2 separate regions of the Homo sapiens genome follow, and region 1 is linked to region 2. The links are contacts of gene promoters, found by promoter capture Hi-C in human tissues and cell types (Jung and others, 2019). All regions are on one chromosome and are shown on one strand. Each heading gives the region's core, a stretch centred on a gene start or on the middle of the fragment in contact. The rest is flanking DNA. Distances are from core to core; before and after follow the strand shown.

Region 1 (6,966 bases), core at 3,361-5,860, 1.2 Mb after region 2:
CCATGTTGGCCAGGCTGGTCTTGAACTCCTGACCTCAAGTGATCCACCCGCCTTGGCCTCCCAAAGTCATGAGATTACAGGCGTCAGCCACCACTCCTGGCCTTGTTTTTAATTTTTTTAAGAGGCAGGTCTTGTTATACTGCGCTGGCTGGTCTCAAATTCCTGGGCTTAAGCAATCTTCCCACCTTGGCCTCCCAAAGTGTTAGGATTACAGGCGTGAGCCACCAACACCTGGCTGACTTTCTGTAAACATTAAACTGCTCTAAAATCTAAAAGTGTATTTTAAAAATTTTGTTATAAAATTAATATATGCAAAGAAAGTAATATATACTCATTGTAAAAATTCTAAAGAATATGGAAATGTAGCCCGAGGAAATGAAACCACCATCACCAGCTATAGAGTGCCCACTTTTAATAATTTGGTGCATATCCATCTAGGTTTTTCTTTACATATAAAATGTACATGCATATATATATATATATGTATTTTTTTTTTTTTTTAGTCAGAGTCTCACTCTGTCCGTCAGACTGGAGTGCAGTGGCATGATCTCAGCTCACTGCAACCTCCACCTCTGCCTCCCGGATTCAAGTGATTCTCCTGCCTCAGCCTCCTGAAGTAGCTGGGATTACAGGCGCCCACCACCACGCCAGCTAATTTTTGTATTTTTAGTAGAGACGGGGTTTCGCCATGTTGGCCAGGCTGGTCTCAAACTCCTGACCTCAAGTGATCCCCCTGCCTGGGCCTCCCAAAGTGCTGAGATTACAGGTGTGAGCCACCACGCCCGGCCTCATGCATATATTTTTTCCTATAAGACAGAACCATTCATTCAGACAGTAGTGAAGAAATAAAAAAAAAAAAATTTATAGTTTTTTTGCACTTTGCTTTTTCCAAAACCCAACTATATGTTATAACTGTTTTCCATGTCAGTACATATCTACATAACAGAACACAATGCAGTCATTAGTGACAATGATATAGAACTGAGGTCAGCAAACTATGGGAGTACAAGAGCCAAATCCAGCCTGCCACAAATAACACAAAAGACATCTACTTTATTCTAACTGTACATTATTCTATTTTTCTTTTTCAATTTAATTTAATTTAATTTAATTTTTTTGAGACACAGTCTCGCTCTGTCACCCAGGCTGGAGTACTGTGGCACGATCTCACTGCAACCTCCGCCTCCCTGGTTCAAAGCAATTCTCGTGTCTCAGCCTCCCGAGTAGCTGGGACTACAGGCATGTGCCACCATGCCCAGCTAATTTTTGTGTTTTTTAGTAGAGATGGGGTTTTGCTGTGTGGCCAGGCTGGTCTCAAACTTCTGGCCTGAAGAGATCCACCCACTTCAGCCTCCCAAAGTGCTGGGATTACAGGCATGAGCCACCATCCCTGGTCCCTCTAACGGTACATTATTTTATTATATAGTTCTGTCATACTTAATTGTCCCAATTCCTTATTATTGGACATTTTGATTGTTCCCAAGTTTGTTGGGTTTTTTTCCTCTTCCAAGCTGCAAAGTTCTCAAGTCTTGTTATTACAAACTAGGTTGTGGTGAATGTCCTTGTACCTCTGTCTTTTGGGGTGTTGTTACCAGTTTCCAAGTTAACCTTTTGGAAGTTTGTTCAAATCTATACTCCCCTCTGCAGTTTCTCAACACTGTTGCCAACGGTGAATGTTATTTTTTAAAATCTTAGCAATTTTAGTAGGAGCAAATACTCTTTCATTTAGTGAACATTCATAGTGGTGATGAAGTTAGACTTTCTGTGTAAGTTGCCTGAATAATTTCCATTTGACCATCCAGAAGCTTCGCAGGCATTTTCCATATTTCCTAGGGCCTAATCACCCTTCCCTTGCTTCCCATGTTTTTCAGTTACGCCAGTGGCCTGACTCATATACAAAGAAGTTTGAGCACAGAATCTACCCCATCACATTTTCTGTTGGAAACCCTCAGGAGTGGAAGAAATTGTTCAAACCCTGTGCTGCCCAGAGACTCTTTCTTCCGGTAGGAACACCTGTTTTTAATAAGTTGTAGCTTGCTCCTGGAAATAAGGTAAAATTAGCTGAGATGTGTGTAGAAACATTTAACTTAACAGCTGAAAACCTGTGTCTCTTGGATTCTGGAGCTGATGCTCTAAGTCTGCAGCATGTAGAGAGGATCCCTGTGTTCTGGAGGTTGTCATACCGAAAGACTGAGGGACTGTGAGCATTCAAATCCTGTCTTGGATCATTGGTCTTTGTGACTATGGTTCCATTATTTACTGGCTCCTGTGAACCTCGTTAAATCCCCCAACTTTACTAACTTCAGTTTTATCCATAGGCTTGGCACATAGCTGGCCCTCAATAAATATTAGCCTGGATTATTGTTATTTCTCTTATCACAATAACAACTACTAGTTATGGCCATACTAGGCTATCATTCCAAAAGGGTCCAGAATTTTGGTTTAGTCTTTTAGTTTAATGAATTTTTAAATTGCATGTTTTTGGTTGCTTTTTTAAAATCTTGAGGCCGGCATGGCGGCTCACACCTATAATCCCAGTACTTGGGGAGGCCAAGGCAGGCGGATCACTTGAGCACAGGAGTTTGAGACCAGCCTGGGCAACAGGGTGAAATCCCATCTCTACAAAAAATACAAAAATTAGGCGGGGTGTGTTGGCTTAGACCTATAATCCCAGCACTTTGGGAGGCTGAGGCGAGTGAGTCACCTGAGGTTAGGAGTTCAAGACCAGCCTGGCCAACATGGTGAAACCCTGTCTCTACTAAAAATACAAAAATTAGCCAGGCTTGGTGGTGTATGTCTGTAATCCCAGCTACTCAGGAGGCTGAGGCAAGAAAATCGCTTGAACCCAGGAGGCAGAGCTTGCAGTGAGCCAAGATCACGCCACTGCACTCCAGCCTGGGCAACAAGAGCTAAACTACATCTCAAAAAAAAAATTACCTGGGCATGGTGGCGCATGCCTGTAGTCCCAGCTACTTGGGAGGCTGAGGTGGGAGGATCATCTGAGCTCAAGAGGTTGAGGCTGCAGTGAGCCATGATCGCACCATCACACTCCAGCCTACCTGACAGACTGAGACCGTGTCTCAAAAAAGTAAATAAAGAAATAAAATTTTAAAAATCAAATAATAATAAAAATATTCAATAGAAAAAGATATTTCAAAAGTGAGAATAATATTGCACAGGGATAGCAACTTTGAATTGTCAGTTGCTGCCTTAATTTTTGTGAGGGATTCATGCCTTCAGTAGACATTTGTTGAGTGCCCACCAGGGTGCTGGGCCCTGGCTCAGTGATGATGACATGGTAATAAGACAGCCATGGTCCTGTTTCCTTGAAGCTTGAGTCTAGTAGGGCCTTGAACAAATAATTAGAAGTATGACCAGTACTAAGAGGAGATAATCTCATGGATGTATGTAACATGGGGTTCCATCCTGGTCTGAGAGAGATCATAGAAGGTTCTCCTGAGGCAGTGGCATATTTTTTTGTGGAGATGGGGTCTCGCTATATTGCTCAGGCTGATCTTGAACTCCTGTGCTTAAGTGATCCTCTCGCCTTGGCCTCCCAAAGTAGTAGGATTACAGGCATGAGCCACCATGCCTGTCCAGCAGTGGCATTTATGCAGACATGAATGAAGGAGAAGTAAGGGTTACTAGGTGACAAGGGCCTTGGGGGTAATGAGAGAAAAGAGGGGTCCAGGCAGATGGAACAGTATATACAAAGGCCCTAAGGTGGGAAGGGCCATGTTTAAGAAAATAAAAGAAGGTCATAGTAACCAAAAAATAGAAAGTGAGATGAGAATGAAGCAATCAGCAGAGACTGGAGCTTGCAGGCTCAGCAAGCCATCTAGAAGTGTCTGGTCTTTGTCTTTTTTTTTTTTTTTTTAAGAGATAAGGTCACTCTCTGTCGCCCCTGCTGGAGTGCAGTGGTGCAGTCATGGCTTACTGCAGCCTCCAACTCCTGGGCTTAAGTGATCCTCCCACCCGAGCCTCACAAGTAGCTGGGACTACAGGTGTGAGCCACCATGCTTAGCTAATTTTTTTATTTTTTGTAGAGATGATGTCTTGCTATGTTGCCAGCCTGGTCACATACTCCTCACATACTCCTGGGCTCAAGCGGTCCTCCCACCTTGACCTCCCACAGTGCTGGAATTGCAGATGAGAGCCACAGCACTCAGCCCAGTCTTTTTCTTAAGGGCAGTGGGAAGCCACTGGATGATTTTTTGCAGCAAGTGGCATGTTCTAACTTGTGTTTTAGAGAAGACACTCTGGTTTATGGCAGCGCAGACAGGGTTGGTGAAGCCAGGTCACTAACTTGGTTTGGGCTTTGATGGTTGCCTTAGAGATGGATAATGGACCTGCCTGAAACGGAATTTACCAACCTTCATGATTGGCTCGTTGTAAGAGTTGAAGGGGGAGTGACATGAAAAGGATTTTACCAGATTTTTTTTTTAACCTGAACAACTGTTAAGGTTGATCCATTTGAAATTGCCAGTATTCAACCATTAATGACCTACAAAAAGGTAATTTCTTATGGCTCAACGTAAGAAATAAATGGCAGAATCATTTAGGGATAGAAAAGACAGGGAAAAGCAGTTTTGGTAAAGGGGTCAAATGAGTTTAATTTGGGTCATACTTTGATTTTGAGGTGGCTGAGGATACTCAAGCAGAAGGAATCGTCACATCTATCGGTCTGGAAACACTAACTGGGGAGTAGCCCTTTTGGCATTTCCTACGCAGAGACCTGTGAGCAGAATAAACCCTGGATGAATTGTTGGCAGCGATCAGCTGCCCAAGCTCACTTGCTCATTATGTCATCTATTTTTCTTTTTCTTTCTTTTTTTTTTTTTTGAGACAGAGTCTCACTCTGTCGCCCAGGCTGGAGTGCAGTGGCACAATCTCAGCTCACTGCAACCTCCACCTCCTGGGTTCAAACAATTCTCCTGCCTCAATCCCCCAAGTAGCTGGGATTTTGGCGCATACCACCATGCCCCGCTAATTTTTGTATTTTTAGTAGAGACAGGGTTTCACCATGTTGGTCAGGCTGATCTTGAACTCCTGACTTCAGGTGATCCGCCCGCCTCGGCCTCCCAAAGTGCTGAGATTACAGGCATGAGCCACTGCGCCTGGCCACATCGTCTGTTCTTCACATGTCACAGACCTTTATATATAATCGCATAAAAACTGGGGTAGGAAAAGACTCCCTCCAATTGACACGAAAATCTCTAGGTTGGTGATATAAAAACTGATTACTCTTTGAGGTGAGAGAAAATGTTAGGTTTGTTGCTTGTCTCCATTTTTGCAAAAAATAAGTATTAGAAAACCAAAGGTAATGTTGGGAAATGGTCTTCCCATTCTATCCAAAATATTAGCTACCCAATGGAACTACATTTGAATTTTTGTTGACCTTGAATTGTGACTTTATTACCATTATTTAAAAAAAAACAAATTCATCACCTAATGGCCTTAATTCTTTCCCAGCTAAGTAGGTGCTTGGTTTTGAATGACAAATGGGTGCTGGCATTCCTTATCTGCTTCTGATAATGGAAACGAGCCCTCTTTAAAAATAATAAAGAGAGATTGTGGTTGACAGGACATTTACCTTTTCCTAGTTGTATATCACAACAGCAGATTATGAACATGGCATTTTTGGGCATCAGTGAGATGTATTGATCTTGAGGGTAATTTTAAAGTCTAGGTTGTGTTTTCCTTGGAATTCATCTCTTTAAAACCATATCAGGTGTGCTGCCTCAGGAGCACAGAGAAAATGGAGATCCTAAAGTGCAAACATTCTATCAGGTAGTCAGTTGACTGAGGACCATGGTCCCACCCATTTTCCAAGAGGCTGTCATCTACCCAAAACTGTGGAAGAGACCCTTTCTCAACTAAGATTTTACTATCTGAATAATATCAGAGCATAAGTCTTTGCAACTCAAGCCAATTAGATTCTCAGGTACAATTAGTGTGATTCAGATCCCACCAATTCAAAATTTATGAACTCCTACAAATCAGTGGACATTTACTCCTCTACTTCTGTGACTAATGGTCCTATGACATGGGATCATTATGAATGCAAACTAAACTGCAGATGGCTTGGTTAAGCGTTCTAAAATGCATATTTCAGGTAATTCAGAAGCTTAAAATATTTAAAACAATATGCCAATTACAAATAAATCAAATGTGTTCATTAAAATTGATTCTGGAATACTTTTATTTTCTTAGTACAGGCCAGAAATCCTTTACATCTGTAAGAGTAATTGAGTTGTATGAATTCACATCACCTTTCCCCCAATTAATTGGAAGTAGTGAGATTTTATAATAGATCTGTACATTTTGCTACACGCTGTGAGGAGAGAAATTATGAAGATTTCTCTCCTCAATAACTGTGGTCTTCTGGGAATCCTAGAGATAGGTAAAACATGACAGACATCACTGGATTGCAGAACCTTTAGAGACATTATTAGTGAGTGGTACCCAATATGGTAATTTGAGGTAGGGTAAGGTTGTATCCAGGGATAAATGTTTTTGGTTTTGTTTTTACCAAGTTTTAATAAGCTCCAAGGTTATGATAATGTCTGATGTCTTTTTTGCTCCCAACATTCACCATAGATAGCCATATTTAAGGAAGGAGTTAGAGAGGGTCTCACTGTGTTGCCCAGGCTAGAGTGCAGTGGTGCAATCATGGATCACTGCAGCGTCAACCTCCTGGGCTCAAGTGATCCTCCCACCTAAGCCTCCTGAGTAGCTGGGACCACAGGTACACACCACCATGCCCAGCTAATTTTTAAAATTTTTGTAGAGACAAGAGTCTCACCATGTTGCCCAGGCTGGTCTCAAACTCCTGGGCTCAAGTGATCCTCCTTCCTAGGCCTCCTAAAGTGCTGGGATTACAGGTGTGAGCCACCGCACCTGGCCAAATTAGTTATAGCTTTAACCTGTAAATGTATTCTGAAAGTTTTCTGACTCCATATTTCC
Region 2 (6,722 bases), core at 129-2,628:
GCACTATCCTGAAAATGCCCATCAAGGTGCCTGCCTTGCATGTAATCAGTAGGCAACAAATAATTTTCTGCACAGAAGAAAAAACAAATGAGTGTGGGTGAGAAACAATGCGTTGCTTAATTCTGGCTTTACCATGCTAAGCACTGGGGATGCAGTGGTACCAAAAACCAGGCATGATCCCTTGCCTTCAAAGAGCTTAGAGCCTAGTTAGAAGAGCATGATTTTTAAAAAGAAATGAAAGTATATAATGACAAATTATAAGTGCTAAGAAGGAAATGACTAGAGGGCAGGGATACAGAGTAAAACAGACGGGTTAGAAGGAGGCCCTACGGAGAGGGAGCCTGTTGTGGGGCTGGTCCAGGCAGAGGTACCAGCACATGCAAGGTCCTGCGAGACAAATGCGGTGTGTCTGAGAATCATAACAGGGGCTGCCCTTTCAGGCTTACCCAGAAAATAGATATCCTGGGAGGAAGGTGGCATAGGGTTCACCTTCCAAGTCACTTAAAGATGAAATGCTGCATTTCTTTTCCCTGATATAGGTCCTTCACCGGGATCACGGATGAGTTAGCGAGCAGGGGATGCTGCGGAGTCGCTGTGAGTCCAGCACTGGAAATCAGACCAAGCGAAATTTGAATCCCAGCTCCGCTACTTCCCGGCTCTCAACTCCCTTGACCTCCAAGCCTCTGCTTCCTGAGGTATAAAGTGGGATTAAGGATGGCAACAACTTCGTGATTACTGTTGAGGGAGATAATGCTTGCCAAGCTCCCCAGCACACTGCCACCCACATCAGTGCGCACCTGAGTATCAGCGGTTTTAGGATTACGATGACTATTACTATCGTAAATTACTCCCAGCTTTCGGGCAGAAGGCTCATTCCAGATATTCCTGTCCCCTCTGAGGCCTCCCGACCCTGCCAGCCCAGGCAACCTCCCCCGCGCACGGCCACCGTGACCCCAGCGCGGGCGCCGCCGCCGGACCCCCGTTACCTGGGGCCAAACGCGACTTGTCGCCACCTTGCGTCCTGGGCCCTGCCTCCCTCCCGGCCGCCTCCCGACCCCGCGGCTGCTGCGGAGGCGCCCCCAGCCCAGCCGGGCCCAGGCGGTGCGGGATGCCTCGGCGGGGCTGGCGGCGGCGGCCGCGCTGCGCGCTCCGGCGGAGGGGAGGGGGCTCCGCGGCGGCGGCGGCGGCGGCGGCAGCGGCGGCAGCGGCGGCGGCGGGCCCGGCGGGGGGCAGAGCCAAGAGGCGCGGCGGCAGCAGCGGAGGAGTAGGAGGAGACGGAGGAGGATGCGGGGGGCTGCGGACGGTGGCGAGGCCCTGTCCGCAGTGAAGCCCGCGGCGCCTAGGGCGCAGGGAGTGGCCGCCTCCTCCTGCGCGCACCATTCCTGAGATGGCGGCGGCGGCACAGCGGCGGCTCGGGGAGCCCAGGAGGGGCCGGCCGGGAGCGGGCTGAGCCCCGCAGGACGGGGAGCTCGCCCAGGGCCGGCGGAGCGGCGGAGCTCGGGCCGGGCGGCCTGCGGGAGCGGCGAGGCAGGGGACGGCCCCGGGGCGGAGCGCACGGCCTGGTGAGGCCGCGATGGCGAACGCGAGCGAGCCGGGTGGCAGCGGCGGCGGCGAGGCGGCCGCCCTGGGCCTCAAGCTGGCCACGCTCAGCCTGCTGCTGTGCGTGAGCCTAGCGGGCAACGTGCTGTTCGCGCTGCTGATCGTGCGGGAGCGCAGCCTGCACCGCGCCCCGTACTACCTGCTGCTCGACCTGTGCCTGGCCGACGGGCTGCGCGCGCTCGCCTGCCTCCCGGCCGTCATGCTGGCGGCGCGGCGTGCGGCGGCCGCGGCGGGGGCGCCGCCGGGCGCGCTGGGCTGCAAGCTGCTCGCCTTCCTGGCCGCGCTCTTCTGCTTCCACGCCGCCTTCCTGCTGCTGGGCGTGGGCGTCACCCGCTACCTGGCCATCGCGCACCACCGCTTCTATGCAGAGCGCCTGGCCGGCTGGCCGTGCGCCGCCATGCTGGTGTGCGCCGCCTGGGCGCTGGCGCTGGCCGCGGCCTTCCCGCCAGTGCTGGACGGCGGTGGCGACGACGAGGACGCGCCGTGCGCCCTGGAGCAGCGGCCCGACGGCGCCCCCGGCGCGCTGGGCTTCCTGCTGCTGCTGGCCGTGGTGGTGGGCGCCACGCACCTCGTCTACCTCCGCCTGCTCTTCTTCATCCACGACCGCCGCAAGATGCGGCCCGCGCGCCTGGTGCCCGCCGTCAGCCACGACTGGACCTTCCACGGCCCGGGCGCCACCGGCCAGGCGGCCGCCAACTGGACGGCGGGCTTCGGCCGCGGGCCCACGCCGCCCGCGCTTGTGGGCATCCGGCCCGCAGGGCCGGGCCGCGGCGCGCGCCGCCTCCTCGTGCTGGAAGAATTCAAGACGGAGAAGAGGCTGTGCAAGATGTTCTACGCCGTCACGCTGCTCTTCCTGCTCCTCTGGGGGCCCTACGTCGTGGCCAGCTACCTGCGGGTCCTGGTGCGGCCCGGCGCCGTCCCCCAGGCCTACCTGACGGCCTCCGTGTGGCTGACCTTCGCGCAGGCCGGCATCAACCCCGTCGTGTGCTTCCTCTTCAACAGGGAGCTGAGGGACTGCTTCAGGGCCCAGTTCCCCTGCTGCCAGAGCCCCCGGACCACCCAGGCGACCCATCCCTGCGACCTGAAAGGCATTGGTTTATGAGGGAGGCCCCGCCACATAGACCCCCAACCCAGCCTTTCCCTTTGGCTCGGACGGTGACGTTGTATCTTTTCCTTCTGGCCCCTGTTTAATTTTCTAAGCTGCCTTCAAAATGACTCGAAGTGGACAGACACTTGGATTGTACTGACTCCTTTGGGGGTGGGGTGGGTGAGGAGTAGGATGCTCAGCCCACTCCAGCTCCGCACATTCGTCCTCCTAACTCGACTTTCTTCCTGACAATAGGCCCTGCAGTCTTTTTGTAGCGGTACTGACGTCTTTTATTCCATGTGTGGTTCCTTTTTTTCTTTTTCTATAAAGGCTGTACTAATTTTCTTCATGCAACGTTTCCTAAAGACCATGGCCAGTTTTCTACAGAAGCTATTTTTGACAACCTCAAGTGGCATTACATTTTGCAGTGAAGTAGAGGAACCTAGGGGGACTTCTTCACAAGTTAGATTTCTTGAGGATCTTCTGTTGGAAGCAGGAGAAAGTGGGGGGTGGGGGGAAGTTGTCCGAAATGCCCTCTGAATTGCCGGCTGCAGGGTCCTTGTGCTGCGCTGGTTCTTTGAAAGTCTCAGTGTTGATATTGAACTTAAAGAGCAGAGATGGAGATCAGTAGCAAGGCAGTCATTTTTTTAAAGCAGTAAGTAACAAGTAAGATTTGGTTCCCGGTTTACTTTCTGCTGCTAAAAACCACGTCAGTGACAACTGCTCTCTGTATTATAGCAATCTTGAATGGAAACATTTCTGTCAAGTTGTAAGTTTTAAAAGAGTAAAGTGTTTTGGTTAGTAATGATGTGGAGAAAAATACAGTATTGCATGTGTTCGTGTGTATAGATTGTGGTTCGAGGATTGGGAGGGCTCTGAGAAGCAGAGTACTACATCAAAATTGTTTTAAGTATTTTTTGCCAATAAAAAATTAATTTTATGGAAATGGCTTGTGCTTTGAGAAGCCCAGTTTTATTCTGTCTTATGAAACTAATTTCCACTTTGAAAATTGTTCTTCTGTTGTTTATGGTATAAATGAATGGAATATAATGATATCCTCCTTCTAGGAAACAAAGCATTTCCTTAAAATGTTTGCTAGGTTAAGCTGTGCTGTTCTACTGATGGTTGTTTTAAATTAATAATGAGAACTATAATTTAAATAATATTTCTTTGTTAGACATTATAATGTTAAACTGAAAGACTAAATTCTGCAAGTACTATATAATATTTTTGGCTTATAATGCTACATTTTTATTAATGTACCTTCCGTTTTGAGGATTTATATCTGTATTTCTCTTTGCATTATACAAATATACCAGTATTTTCATTCTGGAGTGGTTGTTTTGTTGTGGTGGTGGTGGTGTTTGAGGCTGTAATAATACATGCGTCGAAGTATGTTACATGCCTCTAAGTATGTTATGTAAGGATAACATGCTCTATGATCCTTTTAGCACGTGTTCTTCAGTTACAGGTTTCATAGTTTGACCATCAGCATATCCAAGAAAAGTGGAGGCTTAATTTAAAATGCAAGATAAAATCTGCGAAACTTTTCTTTAAAGGGAAGAAGCAGTAGACATATATACGGCTTTAAAACTGTTTTTTTATTTGGATGACAACATTTCAATGACTATTCGTTAAATGACATAAAAAAGCTTTTAAGTAAACATATCAAACTCAAGTACAAGCGATCATTTTGATAAAAGTACTAGGTAAAAGTGGGGGTGGTAGATTATATTGAAATTTAGCTGAGTATAATATAAACTATTAAATGTTCAGTCCAATGGGAATAAGTTATAAAAAGAGTGTGGCCAATTTAATTGATCTCTGGTAAATAGGCTGCATGATTTTATTTTGTTGTGGAAGTTAATCAGTCTGTGAAGACAGTCTCACACTTGGAAAATATGAGACAGTTACCCTATTTCTCCCCACATCATGAATCCAGGTTGGCCTCAATCATCCAAGGGCCACTGATCGGAAACCTCAGCCAACCCCAAGATAGAGGAGCCCAGAAGTACCTCTCTCCTCATCTAACCCTCCACCTGCCCAAGTGATCTCAGTTCCAAATAGAGGTCGAACCAGTCTACGATGGCTCATGCCTGTAACCCCAGAACTTTGGGAGGCCGAGGCAGGAGAATTGCTTGAGACCAGGAGTTTGAGGCCAGCCTAAGCAACATAGCGAGACCATGTCTCTACAAAAAATCAAAAAATTAGCTGGGTGTGGTAATGTGCACCTGTGGTCACAGCTACTGGGGAGGCTGAGGTGAGAGGATGGCTTAAGCCCATGAGGTCAAGGCTGCAGTGAGCCATGACTGTGCCATGGCACTGTAGCCTGGATGACAGAGCTCTCGAGACCCTGTCTCAAAAAAGCCCCCAAAACAGAGATCACCAAGTCTCTGTGATTTTCCCACCTGGCATGGCACAGGAACCAGCCCATCATGGCTGACTCCTGAGCCACTCCAGCTTTGGGCAGCAGCTCAGCTGCACCAGAGGTGACGTGTTGGCCTGACATAGCCTTGAATTCAAGGGATATTTTGTCATATGAGAATTCATAAGCCAGAGGTTCTCAAATTCTAACATTCATACAAATTAAGTGTCTGTGTGATCCAGAGTCTTATGAGGACATGTTGAGTTGGGTCCTGGGGAAAAGCATTTCAACAGGTTCCTCAGGTGGTTGGAGACAGACCTCCAGGACTTCGTTCAGACATGATTTACTTCAGACATGATGCGTTCAAACTTGGCTACCTGGGTTTTTTATTTTTATGTTTTAAAGTTCTGATTAGATGGGGGAAGGCAAGATTTCTAGTGAGTGTGCAGGTGAGAGTAGCAAGAAATAACAGCCAACTAAAGGAAACGAGAACCAAAAGAGCCAGAGAAACAAGCTATGTAGCAGAAAGTGGGGAGGTGCAAAGGGCCACCCCAACAGCTTTTAGGATTGGTGAATCTATTAACATGTACTTTGATAGTTAATTACATTAATCAAAAATTATAAAAAAAAAAAAAAGGTTAGTTGTGTCCACAGTACTCTACTTATTGTACCAGCACAGGCACCATGTATTTAGGGAAGATTTCATTAAAATTGCTCATTTTATTTATTTGGGAAGTTAATTTAGCACAACTTCCCCACCCTCCCACGCAGTTGTCACTATACTTGAAGCAATGTAGGCTTCCCGTACATAGATCTTTGTCTGTATGTTCTAGCATGGAATTGCTGGGTCAAAAGAAGCATTTTTAGGACTTTTGATATCTTGTCAAATAGTTTTGTAGAAGGACCATATGTCTATATGTCTGTTTAAATGTACAGTACACCTGACATATTCTTTTTTTTTCTTTTGAGACAGAGTCTCGCTCTGTTGCCCAGCTTGGATTGCAGTGGCGTGATCTCAGCTCACTGCAACCTCCACCTTTGGGTTCAAGTAGCTGGGATTACAGCTCAGCCTCCCAAGTAGCTGGGATTACAGGCGCCTGCCACCAGGCCCAACTAATTTTTGTATTTTTAGCAGAGACAGGGTTTCGCTATGTCGGCCAGGCTGGTCTCTAACTGTTGGCCTCAAGTGGTTTACCAGCCTTGGCCTCCCAAAGTGCTGAGATTACAGGTGTGACACATTCATTTTTTAAATGAAATATTTTAAGCAAAGTGGGGAAGCATGTAACAAATCAGTAACAACAGTGATAATCTCTGTGTCCACTACTCAGCCTTACCAAATGCCATATTGGTTTCTACTCTTCCTTTTCTCTTTTCCCTTCCTTCCTTCTTTCTTCCTTCCTTCCCTCCCTCCCTTTTTTCTCTTTCTTTTTTAAAAAGAAATAAAACGGCAAAATTATTTCTCCGAAGTCTTTGTTCTCACCATCAGCCCTCTACATTCTCAAATGCCCTGCTCCCTAACAGGTGACAGGGTGCCAAGTCCTAGGGCTGACTCAGGGTTATTGTTTTGCAGGTGGATCACTGGGTTGATGAGATAGAGTCCACCCTGTTTTCCCAAGGCCTACAGGATGGAGGAGAAACCTCTTTGTCTGCCACAGACCTTTCACAGTCAGG

The links. Contacts are between HindIII fragments. The study calls those that stand out against the background at their distance.
Region 1: a contact is called between a fragment that was not itself captured here and the fragment with the promoter of GPR27 in region 2, in 1 of the 25 tissues and cell types used here (dorsolateral prefrontal cortex).

Annotation. Positions count from the first base shown.
Region 1 is chr3:72,920,333-72,927,298 of GRCh38, forward strand. GXYLT2 (glucoside xylosyltransferase 2) reads left to right here. Exons shown (of 7, transcript NM_001080393.2): 3 at 1,872-2,003. Among named protein-coding and RNA genes, the nearest start is that of GXYLT2, 36 kb to the left of the region's middle. The HindIII fragment of the contact is 4,085 bases long and covers 2,569-6,653 here.
Region 2 is chr3:71,752,477-71,759,198 of GRCh38, forward strand. It overlaps GPR27 (G protein-coupled receptor 27), which reads left to right and starts at 1,379. Exons shown (of 1, transcript NM_018971.3): 1 at 1,379-4,020. The coding sequence starts at 1,574. The coding sequence ends at 2,701. It also overlaps a transcript of EIF4E3 not described here. The HindIII fragment of the contact is 10,298 bases long and covers 1-6,160 here.